Regions from separate parts of the Homo sapiens genome. Here region 1 is linked to region 2. The links are contacts of gene promoters, found by promoter capture Hi-C in blood cells and fetal thymus (Javierre and others, 2016). All regions are on one chromosome and are shown on one strand. Each heading gives the region's core, a stretch centred on a gene start or on the middle of the fragment in contact. The rest is flanking DNA. Distances are from core to core; before and after follow the strand shown.

Region 1 (3,159 bases), core at 397-2,896, 110 kb after region 2:
ATACCAAAAAGAATAATAACCACTGAAAATATAGCTGCTTTTATTACTATAATGCAATGCACTTTTAACTTTTTTCAGTAAATTTCCCTTGCTTCTAATACAATGGAAAAATCTGAGCTATTTATTTATTTTAATTCTGATTGTATGGCTCCTTTATTAGGAAAATAATACGCATTTTCAATGAACAAATTTGCATTGTTGACTAAATAATATTTAAAATTAATATATTGTAATAATTTTGTACTTTAAAATTTAACACTGTATAGATAGGTAAAGAATGTATGAATTTAATTTTTCATAAGATTGGTATGTTTTCATATTAAACTTTTCACCTCCAACATTTACAAATATCTGGAAGTTTTATACTTCTAGAAAGTTAAAGAAAGATGATTCAAATAATGATGGACCCTTCAGTAAGTGGAAAAAGTACATTCGGTAACACTAGCAATCAACCACGCAGCCTACAGAAAAATGATTCACCACCACCCATATGCAGTTTCACCTTAATCTACCACATGTGGAAGATGCTCTCAACTGTGGAAACAGTGTGAATTACAGCCCCATCTTCAGCATAAAAGACATGCATACATACTGTTACACTAGAAAAAAAGGAAGCCTTTTATGGAAGAAAATTACCAATTTTCTTATTTAAGTCTTTTTTTCTTTAAAAATAATTAATGAACACTAGCAGCGTAGCGAGTCTTAAATTTTGCCCTTTCACTTAAAATTTAAACCAAAGCAAATACACTTACCTATTATACCAGATCCTATAATCGAGTTGACAACATTAAAAAGAGCAGCAGACTGACAGGTTTTCTCTTTATACTCATGTTCAGAAACAAGGGTTTCTCTGTCATCTAAATCTCTCTAATAGATAAAATAGCAATTATAAGCAAATACTAGTTCAGAAAATTAGAAAAGTAACAAATATGTAATGCAGGATACTAACACGATTTTCTAGTAATAATAAGTAATGTCACTAATGAAAATAAAATAAATGCCGGGATAACAGTAATAAAGAATAACAATAACAGCTAGTAATTCAACAGAGCTTGGTAAGCAAACTCCATCCTAAAATTTCCAGATTACAGCTGCCCCAGCTGCTAAGTACAGGATCTGTTAGGAATTCAGTGATGTGATTTTGTGAAATTAAAGTGCCTGCTAAGAAAAAAAAAAAAAAAAGTCAGATTAAGGCAAAACTTTTTGTCCCAGAGAACTTTTCGCGGTGCTAAACCAAGAGCCCAGGTGAAGGTAGGTGACCTGACCTGTTGCAAGGTGAATGAAATTTCCGGACAACTGGCTTCAGAACCTGCCTAGTCGCTAGTTTTACCTGCGGCGGGATGACAGGCTCCTGCCTCTGGTAGCCCATGGCTGAGCGGTGGTCCTCAGCAGGTGGAAGATGCTGGGGCTGGGTACGGATTCGCACCCGGCCAGCCTCCTCCGCCACCTCGCACACAGCCGAGGTCCGCGTGTAGCCGCAGAGCTGCAGGGAGCCAGTTCCACGGGCGCCCCCTGCTCCCTCGGCAGGCCGCGAGGGCTGCAGCCCCAAGATCTCTAGGCTGTGGCAGCCTGGGGCGCTTTTCCACCGGAGTTCGCCCAGACAAATGTATTTTTCCTCCGGAGACGGAGATGCTGCAGGATGTTTCTGATCCGGGCAGCCCTGTCTCCCCGCCTCCCCCCTTCACACCCCCGCCTCCCTGAGAGAACAGGGAGAGCTACTCTTCCCTGGAGCTGCAGAGGACAACTTGTTCCACCCACGCTGCCCTGCCCCGATCTCACAGAGTTATGACCGCCTCGTTGCAGTCCGTTCCTAAGTTAGCTTCTCCTTTGCTGGGGTCTGAAGCCCAGGTAAGAACGCAGAAGCACCCTTGGGCCCATGGGCCATCTTCCCTATTAGCACCTCCTCCTCGCTACCCCTCTTCAATGGCAGAGACGACGAGTGAAAATTTGGGACTTTTATTGTAAATGGAAATGGAAAGACTCATAAGAAAATGAATAGCAAAACAAAAAACTTTCCTAGGGTTTTAGCAAACTTGACTACTGAGCATGCTTTGGTCAAACGCTTCCTGGTAACTTTTAGAAAAAGGAGCGATAGAGAAAATGAAGGTGGATTGTTACTGCATTCAGGTAATGAACCTTGAAAAGGGAAAGAGGAGTACAAGGGTTTGGGAAAGGGGTGGCACCTACAGTGCCTGAGCTAGAAAGAATCTTCAATGACCACCTATTCAGTCCTCTTACATTACAGATGAAGCAACAAGCCCAGAGAGTATTCAATATCAGAGACAGAATGCATGAGACAACAGTTTCAGGGGCAATAAGAGCGGTGATATGCCATCATACTTAACAAATTCTGCCTTCCCTTGATATCCATAGGGGATTGGTTCTGGAACCCCTGCAGATACTGAAATCCAGGAATGCTCAGGTCCTTGATAGTAAACAGCATGGTATTTACATGTAACCTAGGCACATCCTCCAGCATACTTTAAATCATCTCTAGATTATTTATAATACCTAATACAATGTAAATGCTATTTACTTGTTGTTATACTGTATTGTTTAGGAAATAAGAAAAAAGTCCATATGTGTTCAGTATAGACACATCCATCCTAGCCCTAACTACATTTTTGATCTGGGATTGGTTTAATGCATGGATGCAGAAGTGGGGATATAGAGGCCAACTGTACCTAATTAAAGAGGTTCTGTTTCATACATGTTTACTTATAATTAAGAAAAAAAATTAAAAACCGTGGGAAAACAAAAGACTTATAAACTTTATATACACTCTGCCATCAAATGTTAACATGCTGTCATATTTTCTTCAAATTGTAAAAGTAAACACAATGTCACAATAGGAACCCCCTTGACCTTCTCCATTCCTTTCCCCAGGCCTTCAGCCCTGGAGTCATCGGTTCATCAAGTTAGTGTTATCTTTGCTATTCATACTTTGTATTTTAATCCGTTCATTTATAGCCATAAACAATATATAACATTGGCTTTTGTATTTTCAACATTTACAAAGATGGTGCCATATTGTACATGTTATTTTTCCACTGGCATTTTTGTTTTCAGCATGTATGATGTAGATATATGCAGATTTTTTTTTCATTTTATCTAACAGTTAAGTCAGCCTTCCCCTACTGAAAGATATTAAGGTTGTTT
Region 2 (3,054 bases), core at 256-2,755:
GAGTTTCCTACTTGAGAAACTCAACTAGCATCCAGGTTACTCCTGAACTATTTACTAAGACCAAGGTTATTTTCAGGTTTTCTTCATCTCTTGCAGAACTACCTGTTCTCATTACTGTTTACTCAAACGCTTAACAAGGTAACTATTAGCATATCTGGCAGGAAGACATGCCTCATTTAATATTAACTCACCATGTGACAGCCCCCTTCCTCTCTTCTCAAACATGTGAGGATAAAAAGAAAAGTAGAGTTGTTTGCAATCTGATTTGCGCTGGGTTTTGGAACCAGCAATTGGCCACAGGCACACACACCCCCAATCAGAGGCGCGCACCCCGCTCGCTCCCGGAACTGTCATGCGGGCTGACAGCTGGCACACCCTCCTGTCGCCCTCCACCCGCCTGCAGAAAGCCCACTCCCTACAGTCACCTTGACATTGCTCACCTGCCTGGGCCTCAGCCCATGACCAAGGAAACTTTTGCCCTCCCTCCCCAGGAGCTCACTTACAGGTATCGTCCACCGCTCCCCCAGAGCCCAAACAAGGGTCCCTTTGTTACAATTTTTGCTCCCGGACTCCTCACCCAATTCCTGGCATTCAGCTGGCCTGTAGCAACCCAGGGCAGCCCCGGTAGGAAGGCAACCAAAAACGACCCGAGCCCTCCGCCCGGGCGGCCTCCGAGAAGGCCGGGAGGAAGCAGCCTCCCCGGCCGCGTGGAGGACAGTCAGTGAGTCAGGCCGCCGGCAGGGCAGCGAGTTGCCAGCCAGGTGAAACGGCCGAGGCCTCGCTGTCCTCGCCGGCCTCGCCCTCCCCGGTGAGAGGCGGCGCGGCGCTCTGGGCTTACCTGGCTGGGGCGTCCTGCGGGCGCGGGGTTCGGCCGTCCATCGCCCTGCGGGGCGCTGCGCGGGCTCCAGCTCCCAGGCGGCGCGTCACTGCTGGGGTGGGAGAGGCCGGCGGGTCAGGGCGGGACGCGCGCCTTCCCGAGGCCGGAGCGAAGCTGGCTGAGCGTCAAGAGCCCGCCCGAGCCGCTCCAGCCCCGGCCGGCCCGCCTCCCGGGTGCGCTTCCACCTGCGGGCCCCGGCTCCCAGCCCGCGGGCGCCGCCGCCGTCTCTACAAGGTCTAGCGGGCGCCCAGAGCACGGCGGAGGAGGCGGTGGCGCTGCAGCCCCCGCCCCGTGGGGTTTACTGGGTAGCCATTTGGCGCCTCTCGGAGGGAGAGGAGCCGCCGGGGCTGGAAAAGGAGGAGGAGCGGGGCCGGGCGCACGGGCACCGCTGCCACGCCGGCAGCGCACTCCCAGGCTCCTCCGGCCGAGTTTGCACAAACAAAACGCCCTAGGAAAACTTTTCCCGAAGAGAAGTTGGGAGGGCTGATCTCTCTTTTCCCACCCAAGGCTCCTACGTTCTTTTCCAAAGGAGACAGTAGCTCGCCTGTTCTCCCTCGCGGCTTCCTCTCCTACTCTTCCCTTCCCCGGCCCGCGCTCTTGCCGCTCGGCTCTCAAGCCAGGACTTGAATGGAGAAGCGGCAACCCCTGCGAGGCTCAGCCCAGCGCGGGCAGGGCCGACTCAGCACCTCCCCTGTCCCGCGGGCGGGGTGCGGGCGCTGGCTGGGCGCTGGGGGCCTCGCTGGAGCCCGCTCTCTCACTCACCCTGCCCCATTTCCCTGCCCGGAGTCCGGGAGCTCGCCGCCGCCTCTGCAGCACGGCCGCACATAAGTGGGGACCAGCTCGGCGGCATTGGAGCGAGGGAAGCAGCGAGCCGGAGAGAGGAACGGGGCGGGGGTGGGCCGGGAGCAAGTTGGAATTTCCTTCCCCCAGGGCTTCGGGTCTTTGGGGTCCGGCTGGGGAAGCTGAACCGAAAGAAAGCTCCCAGACGAGGTGTTCCCATTCCCACCGCTAGGCTGCGCTTCGGGAAGGCTGGTGCGCCTGAACCGGACAGGTGCGGGGGAAGGGAGGTTACCTGCCTTGCCAGGATCCGCGGGGAGGATTGGGGCCTCCGCGGAATGCGGTCAGAAACTCGCAGAGTGGGGCCTGCAGCTTGCCCCCCCTAGAGTCCGACCCTCGACGTCCAGGATCGTTTTTTTAAATTTGTGTTTTTAACTTGACCTTTAAGATTGCCATTCTTTTAAAAGCGCACCTGTGACACAGATCTTTCTAATTGGTGGCAGGTTTAAGCTTGCCCTGTCTTCAGAGGCATTTTTTGTAAAAGCCTATAACAGCTCTGACATGAGAACTGGACAACAGTATGTCTAATGACAGTCTATAAACTAAGAATTAAGTAATAGATTGTATTCACTTATTGGAACTTTTACAAGGGTAAAGGAATCAGACACAGCTGTGTGCTTGTTTGTACGTTTTAGTATCCACGTGCATGCCCTTTAGATGATTCTTTACACCTGACAGACAGGTACTAGGTTGGTGCAAAAGTAACTGCGGTTTTTGCCATTTTTTTTTTTTTTAAAAAGTAATGACAAAACCGCAATTACTTTTGCACCACCCTAATATATTTACATATTTTATATTTTTCATAAGCGCCAATTGTTTTAAGATGCGCGCCATTCTGATGGGCCCAAAAATGTGTTTTCAGAAAACAACGTGACATTAAGAAATGAATTTAAAATTAGAGTTTTAAAAACATATTTGGATTAAACTGATGGAGAGATCTTACAGGAAGGAACATCCTGCAGGGGACTTCTGTTGTAGCACTAACATCAAGTAATAAACCTGTGTTAGCCACTGATAGAATAACATTTGGCAGGTATTACAATTAAATTGATATTAATGCTCCTTTAGTTGGTTATCCATTGCAGCAACAAAAAAAGATTGCTGAACTAAATGCCTAGCAATGTGCCATTTGTCTACCACACGCAGGCATTGGTATTTATTTCTTTCAGTGCATAATGTCCTTTCAGTGCATCTTAAATATGAAAAGAAAAAAACACATGGCTCATTTGGATTACAATACTGGAACCATATTAGAAAAAGTTGCTTTTAGAGATTTTAACTAAGAGTAAAGCAATTTATTTAAATACCTCTGGGTTTTAGTCTTTAAACAATAACTCTGT

The links. Contacts are between HindIII fragments. The CHiCAGO score rates a contact against its expected background, and 5 or more counts as called.
Region 1: a contact is called between the fragment with the promoter of SLC38A11 here and the fragment with the promoter of COBLL1 in region 2, in 1 of 17 cell types (total B cells). The highest score is 5.0, in total B cells.

The regions. Positions count from the first base shown.
Region 1 is chr2:164,953,879-164,957,037 of GRCh38, forward strand. It overlaps SLC38A11 (solute carrier family 38 member 11), which reads right to left and starts at 1,647. Exons shown (of 12, transcript NM_001351537.2): 1 at 1,331-1,647; 2 at 753-867. The coding sequence starts at 1,369. The HindIII fragment of the contact is 8,780 bases long and covers 1-3,159 here.
Region 2 is chr2:164,840,318-164,843,371 of GRCh38, forward strand. COBLL1 (cordon-bleu WH2 repeat protein like 1) reads right to left here and starts at 1,506. Exons shown (of 14, transcript NM_001365672.2): 1 at 1,393-1,506; 2 at 839-929. The coding sequence starts at 879. It overlaps LOC101929633 (a long non-coding RNA gene), which reads left to right and starts at 432. Exons shown (of 2, transcript NR_110574.1): 1 at 432-505. RefSeq lists a silencer at 1,480-1,689. The HindIII fragment of the contact is 5,265 bases long and covers 1-2,162 here.